2 separate regions of the Homo sapiens genome follow, and region 1 is linked to region 2. The links are contacts of gene promoters, found by promoter capture Hi-C in blood cells and fetal thymus (Javierre and others, 2016). All regions are on one chromosome and are shown on one strand. Each heading gives the region's core, a stretch centred on a gene start or on the middle of the fragment in contact. The rest is flanking DNA. Distances are from core to core; before and after follow the strand shown. Region 1 overlaps SWAP70 (switching B cell complex subunit SWAP70). Region 2 holds the start of DENND5A (DENN domain containing 5A).

Region 1 (5,686 bases), core at 1,785-4,284, 470 kb after region 2:
CTAGGTTTATAGAATTATTTAAAAGACTGATTTAGGATTCTTGGATAAGTGCTGAAAAATTCTTATAGATCGCTTAGTAATCTTTGATTTTCTTGTCAATAAACACAGTTCTCCAATTTTTTCATGGAGGCATTCTTAGAAAAAAACAGCTTAGATGAATATTTAATTAAATTTATTTATTTTGAGACAGGGTCCCGCTCTGTTGTTCAGGCTGGAGTGCAGTGGTGCCATGCTCACTCCCCTGCTCAAGACATCTTCTTGCCTCAATATCTCAAGTAGCTGGGACTACAGGTGTGCACCACCATACCTGGCTAATTTTTTTGTATTTTTAATAGAGATGAGGTTTTGCCATGTTGCCCAGGCTAGTCTCAAACTCCTGGGTTCAAGCAATCCACCCACTTCAGCCTCCCAAAGTGCTGGGATTACAGGAATGAGGCACCATGCCCAGCTGAATCTTTTAATCATCTGGAATTAGGTTACATATCTGTGGGTTTCTTAAAATTTGACAGGCCTCATTTTAATTAGAAGAAGGAATAAGAAATCATGGTAGTTTTTATAAATTAATAGATTTACTTAAAGAATTTACTTAAATTTTTATTTCTACTTTTGTTTCTTTTAAAAAATATAATCATTTGGGTAGGTTCAAAAATATACAAATATAAAAAGGCAGCTGTGAAAGATTTTCTCCCCCTCCCCCACTTATGAATTTCCACCCCTTGCCCAAGGTAAGGAAATATGAATATACATTCTTATTTTCCCATTTGTTAAACACACAAAAGTATATACTAGTGTCACTGTTCTGCCTCCAGTTTATTTCACTTAATATATTTTTTAGATCTTTTCATATCAGTATAAAGAGAGTTACCTCATTCTTTTTTATGGCTGTAGAATATTCTGTTATACAACTGTGTCATTACTTAGTCATTCCCTGTTAGTGAACATTTGGGTTGTGTTAATCTTTTGTTTTAATAGGTAATGCTGTAGGGAATAATCTTGTACCTGTGTCATTGTATATGTGTTCATACATGTTCTGATATCTCTAGGGAATGAATTCTCAGAAGTGGGAATGCTGGGTCAAAGTGTGTAATTATGAAATCCGGGCTGATGGACCAGCCGCCATCTTGAGTGTTGCTATTCACTGTGCCGGAAGAAAAAGTGTTCTAGGGTTTGGCAATGCGGTGCTCCAGCCTAGAAATGTCACACTGTACTTCTATTGATAATATCTTGGTGAGAACTAGTCAGAACTTTCTGATGAGTAGTCAGCTGTCAAGCTTGCAGGAGTTCCCTTGTGTGTGGTAAATCATTTTTCTTTTTCTGCTTTTAAGATTATTTTTTGGTCTTTGTCTTTCAACAGTTTTACTGTGGTGTATGTGGGTGTAGATCTCTTTGTGTTTATCCTGTTTAGAGTGTATTGAACTTGAATATGTAGATTAATGTTTTGCCTTAAGCTGGATAAGTTTTCAGCCACAAATATTTTTTCTACTTTTTTTTCCCTCTTCTGATACTTTCGTTATGCAAATGTTGGTGCACATAATGGTGTCCCACATTTCTCTAAGGCTGTGTTCATTTTTCTTCTTTTTTATTTTCTGTTTTCCAGTTGCATAATTTCTATAGATCTGTCTTTAGTAGATTTTTCTTGTAGCCCAAATATACTGTTGAGTCCCTCTAGTGAATTTTTCGTTTCAGTTATGGGACTTTTTACTTCCAGAATTTCCATTTGGTTTTTTCTGTGATTTATATCTCTTTATTATTCTCTATTTTATGGTATATTGTCATTCCTTCCATTACTTCTCTAAGTATGGTTTCCTTTAGTTATTTGAGCATAAAATATTTATAACTGCTTTGAAGTCTTCATATGCTAAATCCACCATCTGGGCCTCTTCAAAGGCAGTTTCCGTTGCCTGCTTTTTCCCTGTATATGGGCCATACTTTCCTTTTTCTTTGCATGTCTCATAATTTCTTGTAGAAAACTAGACATTTTAGATAATGTGTGGTAGCAACTCTGGATTCTGATTCCACCCCTCTCCCCAGAGGCCTGCTGTTGTTTGCTCCTTTATTTGTTTAGTGACTTGGCTGGACTATTTCAGTGAAGTTTGTTTTCCTCACAGTGTGAAGCTTCTGACTGTTGCTCCTCAGAGGCACAGGCTTGGACAGGAACACAGTCACCCTGCGAAGACCCTGATTTTTGCAGGGCTCTCTTTGAGTGTCTTTCTCTGATCTCTCATTTAAGCTTTCCACCTCTGTTGGTACCACACCAACAGCTGTTAGAGTTCACTAATTTTGTTCTGTTGTTCTCCATAATGCCCTGGAACCTGAATTGCCTCACAGTCTGAGATCATTTAAATTCAGGCCTACATGTAGTCTTTAAGGTCAGTCTTTGAGACTTGTTCCTACTACATGAGAACTCTTCTTAGCTGTCTCTTTCTCTGGTTCTGTCTGTCAGACGTTTGGCTGGTCTGGAAGAGCAGTGGCTCACACCTGTTAATCACTTTGGGAGGACAGGGTGGGAGGATCACTTGAGGCCAGGAATTTGAGACCAGCCTGGGCAACATAGCGAGACCTCATAGCAGTCAACCAACAAACCAACAACACTTTTAGCTGGTCCGTGTGTTAGTGTGTTGTTCTCATGGAGCTTCTGGCCTCCTCTTAATTCTCAGCCACTCTTGCCTGGAATAAAGTTTCTGCAACATGCAGCTGGGGACAAAGAGAAATTCTGGCAGCCAGCCTGCCCCTCCCAGGAAGGTATCATAGCCCTAGGCTTGAGCTGAGGGGAGGGGAACCCTTGTTTGGGGTTCCATCTGCCAGGAGAAGAGCTTTCTTCTCACTGACACTGTGGGGGTGGGGAGGGAGTGCATCATATGCCACAGACCCTCACGATTCTTACTGAGAGTTAGATTTTCTTAGATAAATGTTCTCCATTTTAGAATGTCCTTAGCATAATTTCTAGAGACTTTTAAAGGTTTTGTTTTTTTAACAATAATTTTCACCAGTTATGGTTGTTTTGTTGGGGAAAGGGTCTGTGGAGCTCCTTATGCCACCCTTCTAGAAATTGGTTCTGGTAAAAGTTATAATGAATAATGTATAAGATGAAAAAACTGTACAGAAAGAGCTCAAGAAATAGCTCTCAAATCTCATGAATGTGGCTGGGCATGGTGGCTTACACCTGTAATCCCAGCACTTCGGGAGGCTGAGGTGGGCGGATCACGAGGTCAAGAGATCGACACTATCCTGGCCAACATGATGAAACCCCGTGTCTACTAAAAATACAAAAATTAGCTGGATGTGGTGGTGTGTGCCTGTAGTCCCGGCTACTCGGGAGGCTGAGGCAGGAGAATCACTTGAACCTGGGAGGTGGAGGTTGCAGTGAGCCGAGATCGTGCCACTGCACTCCAGCCTGGCGACAGAGCAAGACTCAGTCTCAAATAAATAAATAAATAAATAAAAATCTCATGAATGCAATCCCAAGTGAATTTAATTCAATGACTGTACTAAAACTTTCTTTGCAAAATGTTGTTCAGGCTTATCAATAGTCTTTCATTTACCTAATTTATTTTGTATGTTGATTCAGCAGATCGTTAGACTGGAATTCTAATGGAGCTAAAAGTTTTTATTCTATTATCTTTATTGAATGTTAAGAATGTTTGGCTTTTCCTGTACTTAAGTATGACTGTCTCTCTCTCTTTAATGTACTTCTACTCTAACACCTGCTTTTCTGTGGATGGGTTTTTGATTGGCTAGAAACTGGAGGAAGCAGCATCTCGTGCAGCAGAAGAGGAAAAGAAACGCCTTCAGACTCAAGTGGAACTTCAGGCCAGGTTCAGCACAGAGCTGGAAAGAGAGAAGCTTGTGAGTATCACATGGCTGGAGAAAGCAGCTGCAGTAGCTCAGCCTGGGTCGGTGGGAACAGGGAAGGGCTGGAGGCTACAGTGAGGCATGTCATCAGCTTGGCTTTGCTACTGACCTGGAATGGGCTGTAGGGGAAGTTGCATGTTTGTTCATTCATTAATTATCTGTTTATTGAACACCTTCTATGTGCCAGGCAGTGTGCCAAAGATGTAATGGCAAAAGACATAAACCTTGTTTTCAAGACTCCTAAGTGGAAATTTATGGAGCCAGGCATGGTGGCCCACTCCTGTAATCCCAGCACTTTGGGAGGCCAAGGCATGAGAATTGCTTGAGCCCAGGAGTTCAAGACCAGCCTGGGCAATATCTACAAAAAAAAAAAAAAAAAAAAGAATTAGCCAGGCCTGTTGGTACATGCCTGTAGTTCCAGCTACTTAGGAGGCTGAGGTGGGAGGATTGCTTGAGCCCAGGAGTTCAAGGCTACTGTGAGCTGTGATTTTGCCACTGCACTCCAGCCTGGGTGACAGAGCAAGGCCCTGTCTCCAAAAAAGAAAAAAAAAGAAATTTGTGGAATGATGTGATAAATGCTTGGTTAGGGTGACTATATTTCCTGGTTTGCCTGGGAGAGTCCCTGCCATTCTGGTATAATTATTAATAACATTCCTTTTCATTCTCAAAACAGTTCTGATTTGGAAAATAAATAGTTATGGAAAAAGTAAGCATAGGTTCCATGGTATATCTCCTCTGTAATAAGCAAGGATGGCGGGGGTGAGATCCTGAAATTGTGAGAACATCTAGAGTCTGATTTGTTGCTCTTGGCAGCTCCGGTTCATCCTAGAGGCTTCCATCTTCAAGAGACCCAAGATCCAGGTTGTCTTAGGTAGTTAGCTGGTTAGCTGGAACACAGGTCTTCTCACATTGAGTGATACTCTGTCAGAGAGTGCTAAGCCCAGTGCCTAAATAGATGCATGTGACATTTCCTCTAGTCACTTTTTGTTATTTAGAGTTGAAAGAGATGTGTTTGTGGTTCAGAGAAAAGAGGAAGGCAAATGTGATGTAGAGAAACAGCCAGAATGTCTGGTCTTGTTTCCTCTCTGGTCCTTCTTACTGAACATTGGCTTTTTCTTCTTTAAGTTCAGGATTATCACATGCTCTCTCATGACTCTTCTGAAGACAGAGTGAGCTAATGCAAGTGAAAATATTTTATCAACTGCAGAGAAATAGGCTAATGTGTTTGTTATATTTAGGATGTTCTTGTCTTGTAATTTTTAAGGCAGGGATTCAAAACTCTGTAATCCAGAAGGGAAAAACCATTAACGTATACAGATTAACTGAAATGCTTGAGTTCCTCTAGGGCTGGAGGTGCCCCAGGGAGTGGAGACAGCCAGGGAAGTGTGGGAGGAATCCCATGCTGGATGACCTTTCCTTCTTCTTTAGTGTAACACTAAAGAAGACTGGGAAAAGGTTCGTTTGCTCTGACTGGGAAAAGGTTCGTTCCTTTTAGAGAAGACCCTATTGGTAAAAAGATTGTGACTTTAAGACAGAAAGGAATTTAGAGAGAAATTACACAAGGAAACATTTTTTTCTTGACTTGAGTCTTAAAATGTGGAGTGGAAGGGATGGAAAATACAGCAGGGCAGAACATAATTTGGGTTATAATTTGCTCTTCCCAGACTCTTTCACTATTGCGATTGGGTGTGGTACCCTCATCTCCTCCATCTTTAAGTTCAAGGATTGAAGGACAGGGTCCTGCCACCCTGATGGGCTGAGGCTGCAGCTGTGGGCAACCCCTCAGGTGGAGGTGAGGCTTTCCCTGAGAAAGAAGTCAACCTGCATTTAAACA
Region 2 (5,391 bases), core at 1,365-3,864:
AATAATTTTTTTTTTTTGGACGGAGTCTCGCTCTGTCGCCCAGGCTAGAGTGCTGGAGTGCAGTGGCGCGATCTGGGCTCACTGCGAGCTCCGCCTCCCGGGTTCACGCCATTCTCCTGCCTCAGCCTCCTGAGTAGCTGGGACTACAGGCGCCCGCCACCACGCCCGGCTAATTTTTTGTATTTTTAGTAGAGACGGGGTTTCACCCTGTAAGCCCGGATGGTCTCGATCTCCTGACTTCGTGATCCGCCCGCCTCAGCCTCCCAAAGTGCTGGGATTACAGGCGTGAGCCACCGCGCCCGGCCTAAAACTAAAATTTTTTTAAAGTAAATTAGAAACCATAAAACTACCCCGACAAAAAGCCTAATATTAATTATATTACTGCTTCATATTTTCTCCACCTGCTATTGAGGAAATAGCTCATTTTTTTCTAACCTTGTTAAAGCATGAATTTATCATGCTTTTTTCTTCTTTTTCTTTTTTCCCAGACAGAGTCTCGCTTTATCACCCAGACTGGAGTGTAGTGGCGCAATCACCCAGACTGGCGCAATCTCAGCTCACTGCAACCTCCCCCTCCTGGGTTAAAGCGATCCTCCTACCTCAGCCTCCTGAGTAGCTGGGATTACAGGCACGCGCCACGACGCCCGGCTAATTTTTGTATTTTTAGTAGAGACGGGGGTTTCACCATGTTGGCCAAATTGGTCTCGAACTCCTGACCTCAGGTGACCCGCCCGCCTCGGCCTCCCAAAGTGCTGGGATTACCCCTGAGCCGCCGGGTGGTGGGCCACCGCGCCCCGCCTAATTTTTTTTTCATAAGAAACACTGGGCCGGGCGCGGTGGCTCACGCCTGTAATCCCAGCACTTTGGGAGGCCGAGGCGGGTGGATCATGAGGTCAGGAGATCGAGACCATCCTGGCTAACAAGGTGAAACCCCGTCTCTACTAAAAATACAAAAAATTAGCCGGGCGCGGTGGCGGGCGCCTGTAGTCCCAGCTACTCGGGAGGCTGAGGCAGGAGAATGGCGTGAACCCGGGAAGCGGAGCTTGCAGTGAGCCGAGATTGCGCCACTGCAGTCCGCAGTCCGGCCTGGGCGACAGAGCGAGACTCCGTCTCAAAAAAAAAAAAAAAAAAAAAAAGAAACACTGGACTTTTTCTGGTGCCCAAAAACAAAACTGTCTTGTCATCGTTGAAGCCGAGTAAGATTAGTCAACAGGATAATCACTTTCGAAAGAGAAACTTTACAGTGACAGAAAAGTGAAAAGGAGTCCCCCTCATCAGGATGACACAACCTTAAAGTACAACCCGACAAACCTCCACCCACTTGAAACCCACTAACTGGAAACTCCAGACAAAAACTTATTTTCAAAACTGTTACAATTCAAAGACTCCAATGACAGTGCAGTGGAAAATTCACGGGGACTGTATAATTTTCACGGCCTTCTGCAGTGAGTGCCAAATCTGGTCAGGGCCCCATCTTTGACTCCCCTCATCACTTTCCCTTTCAAATATGACTTGAAACGCATCAGAACACACCAAGCCTCTCCAACTACAATGCTGCTACCCTTTTATTCACAAACGCCTCTGTCCTCATAAAGGACATAAATTACTTTTCAAAAAAGGCATGGCCCCGGGATACAAGCCCTTTCCAAGGCTAAGGGAGTTCCTACTCTTCTTGGTGCCGCCCAAGTTCACTTTATTACTTCATATCCCATCCAGACGCGCAGAGCTGCAATCTGACTCAGGGGGCCCAGCCCAGGGCTGGGGTATAACGGTTTTGAGGAACTAGTATCACAAGCTTCTTGGGAAGTGGCCAGATAAACTCACCAAGTTTTTGTTTTCCTTTTTTTTAAGTCTGGGTGGAACTTACTTTCACTAGGACGTGGGACGCCTTCCCTCCCTAATGGGTGCCAGAGGACAAGCTTTCCTTTATTTTAAACGAAGTCACTCAACCTACACCAAACTGAGAACACACAACCCTCCCTCTTTCTGGTCGCCGAAGACGTGGCCACTGCGCAGCGGGCCGTAGGTTTGGACCCCTCATGGCTCAGAGCCCCTCATCCGTTTCCCCCCTCCAGTCCAAAGCCCCCTTCGCCCGCGCCCGCCCTGGTCCTCCCGGCCGACACTCGCCCGGCTCCCGGGACAAAGCGGGGCTGAAGGAAGGTTTCTTCTGGGGTCCCCGACGACAGCGGGCGCGGGAAAGCGCCCCGGGCTCGGCGCGCACTCACCCGACAGCTCGTCCGGCTCCAGCCCGGTCTCCGTGTCCAGTCCGCAGATGACAAAGTAGTCGGCGAAGCGACTGGGCGCCGAGCCCCCTCCGCCGCCGCCGCCACTCATGGCGCCGGGGCCGAGACCGGCCGGGCAGTGCGGAGCGGCACCGAGCCCCCGCAACCCGGGCGCCCGCCCGTCCGCCCTCAGGCCGCCCCTCCCGCCGCCGCCGCTACCGCGGCTCGGGCCGCCGCCCCCGGCCCTGGCCCGGTCCCCTCGGCCGCCGCGGCTGCCGTGACGGGGCGGGGGGGCACCGGGCCGCCCCGCACCGCATCCTGGATGCCTTCCCCTCCGCGCCGCCGCCGCTGCAGCTAGCCGAGAGCGCCGCGGCCCGAGCGAGCCTGGAGAAGGGCGGAGAGCGCGTGGACAGCCCCCACCGTGACCCTCCTCCTACCGCGCCTGCGCAGGCGCCGTCTGGGAGGGGGCGGGCTCCTGGGGGAAAGGATGACGTGATGCTCTTCGGACCCCGCCGGCCGCAGCTTCCCGGGAGGTCGCCGCAGCGCAGCCGGTGACTGCTTGGTCGCCCGCAACTGCCACTCCCCCGGGATTGAGACTCCTTTAGGGAGGGCTGAGGAGGTGCGAGAAGAGTGGGCGCAGCCTGCAGAGCCGGGCATTTGGCCCATGCTCTGCCCCCAACCACCCACCCAGCAAGCAGAGGTCCAGAGATCTTAGCGCGGCCTTGCCATGAGGATGGGGTCTCACGACTGAGCTCGGAAGCTCACCTAATCCTAGCTGCAGCGTGTCAGCCTAGACCCCAGACAGGGCCTTCTCCCTGTCCTCTCTTTTGGCAGGGGCGGATGAGCCGGTTTTATATTTACCCTTATTTTACAGACGGGGAAACTGAGTCTCAGAAAGAAGCAAGGACTTATCCAAGGTTACGCTGAGTCTAAGAGACATAAGCCTGGTCTGGAATCCTGGGCTTGTGGTCAGCTCCCCGTTCCTCGCCGCTCCCACCTCCCAGCCTGCCCTTTTCCCACGCTCTCTCCTTTTTTCTCTGGAAGCCTCCAGAGGCGCCTGCCATTTGGGAGCTCCTCTTCCTCTTCACTCTGTGAAAACTCTCAGATCCACCCCTAAACCTGTTTTCCTGTAAGAGGATAGGGAGGAGGCGAAGGGAAACTTACCTATTGGTCCTTGTCCTAGGACCCTCCGATTTCCTTTCCCATAGAAGCTAGGCAGATGTGTCTTTGTTGGAAACTGGAGATCAGAGGCCAGAAAGGCAACACAGGTATAGTGGTCACTAGCATGGGCTCTAGAAAAAAATGCTCGGATTTCAATCCTGACGATCATTTACTTTTGACCTTGAGCAAGTTAATCTCTAAGTGCCTGGCGTCATGGTTTTTGAGACAATTACATAAGGTAAATGCAAGTACAGGTAAAACAATGAGAATACTGCCTGGAACATGGAAATCACTCAGTAAATATTACAGATTTTTTTTTTCAAGACGGAGTTCTGTCTTGTTGCCCAGGCTGGAGTGCAATGGCGTAATCTCGGCTCACTGCACCTCTGCCTCCCAGGTTCAAGTGATTCTCCTGCCTCAGCCACCCAAGTAGCTAGGATTACAGGCGCGCACCACCACACTCGGCTAATTTTTTGTATTCAGTAGAGACAGGGATTCACCGTGTTGGTCAGGCTGGTCTCGAACTCCTGACCTCAGGTGATCCGCCCTCCTCTGCCTCCTAAAGTGCTGGGATTACAGGCATGAGCCAATGAGCCCCCAGCCTGGATTATTATTATTGTTCCAGAAGGAAGTACTCTTACGGTTTGTTCTGGGAGGCTGCCACTAAGAGCTGTAGAAGGCAGCTGGCTTCCCCAAAGGCTGAGCCTAGGCTCTCTCCTAGGTTCTCCTGGGTACTTCTCTCAAATATTGTTTCCCTTGGGGAGGTTTACCTAGAGGTTATAGCCATTGTCTCTCGGAGCCATAGCACCTGTTCCTCCCTGTATCTAACCTGCCTGAACTAGGGGGAGAAAAGTGGGGAGGAGAAGGTTGCTTCAAAACGCCCATTCATGGTGATGCTCCACCCGTATCCTGCATGCTGGGGACACAGAGACAGTAGAGGGGGATTAGTGAGTTAAACAGTCACAGAGGCTGGGCGTGGTGGCTCACACCTGTAATCCCAGAACTTGGGGAGGCCAAGGCTGGCGGATCGCTTAAGGTCAGAAGTTCAAGACCAGCCTGACCAATATGGTGAAATCCCATCTCTACCAAAAATATAAAATTAGCAGGGTGTGGTGGCAGGCAACTTTAGTCCCAGCTCCTCAGGAGGCTGAGGCAGGAGAATCGCTTCAACTCAAGAGGCAGAGGTTGCAGTAAGCCGAGATCGTGCCACTGCACTCTAGCCTGGGCAACAGAATGAGGCTCTACCTCTAAATAAATAAATAAATAAATAAATAAATATGCCAGGCGTGGTGGCTGACACCTGTAATCCCAGCACTTTAGGTGGCCAAGGCAGGCAGATCACGAGGTCAGGAGATCAAGACCATCCTGGCCAACATGGTGAAACCCCATCTGTACTAAAATTATAAAAATTAGCTGGGTATGGTGGTGCCTGTAATCCCAGCTACTCAGGAGGATAAGGCAGGAGAATTGCTTAAACTCGGGAGGTGGAGGTTGCAGTGAGCCAAGATGGCGCCACTGCACTCCAGCCTGGCAACAGAGACACCCTGAAAAAAAAAAAAGAAAAAAAGAAAGTTACAGAGCACAGAAGGAGGACATCTTTCCAGATTGGGGAATGGTCAGGGAAGGTTTCCAGAAGGAGGTATATACTCTGACCTGAGTTCCAGAGGATCAACAGGAAGTTTCTCAGGTAAAAAGGGGCAGGGAAAGATGTTTAACTCAGTATGTGTAACAACAGGGAGCAACAGATAAAAGGGTATGTTCAGGCATCAACAAGTAATTCATTAACATTAAGATGGGAGATGGAGAGTTTAAAGGGAATGAAACCAGGGCAGGGGAGGAAGAAGGAGAACAGAGGAAGGAGGCATGGATTCAAATACCAGGCTAAAGAATTTATCCTCGGCCAGGCGTCGTGGTTCACACTCACGCTGGTAATCCCAACACTTTGGGCAGCTGAGGCAGGAGGACTGCTTGAACCCAGGAGTTTGAGACCAGAGTGGAGAACATAATG

Evidence for each region. Contacts are between HindIII fragments. The CHiCAGO score rates a contact against its expected background, and 5 or more counts as called.
Region 1: a fragment that was not itself captured here is called in contact with the fragment with the promoter of DENND5A in region 2 in 2 of 17 cell types (M2 macrophages and M0 macrophages); the score reaches 6.9 in M2 macrophages.

The regions. Positions count from the first base shown.
Region 1 is chr11:9,734,475-9,740,160 of GRCh38, forward strand. It overlaps SWAP70 (switching B cell complex subunit SWAP70), which reads left to right. Exons shown (of 12, transcript NM_015055.4): 8 at 3,739-3,846. Among named protein-coding and RNA genes, the nearest start is that of SBF2-AS1, 21 kb to the right of the region's middle. The HindIII fragment of the contact is 1,613 bases long and covers 2,229-3,841 here.
Region 2 is chr11:9,262,736-9,268,126 of GRCh38, forward strand. It overlaps DENND5A (DENN domain containing 5A), which reads right to left and starts at 2,615. Exons shown (of 23, transcript NM_015213.4): 1 at 2,226-2,615. The coding sequence starts at 2,334. RefSeq lists enhancers at 1,147-1,486, 1,647-1,766, 2,847-2,916 and silencers at 2,057-2,416, 2,467-2,566. The HindIII fragment of the contact is 8,855 bases long and covers 1,918-5,391 here.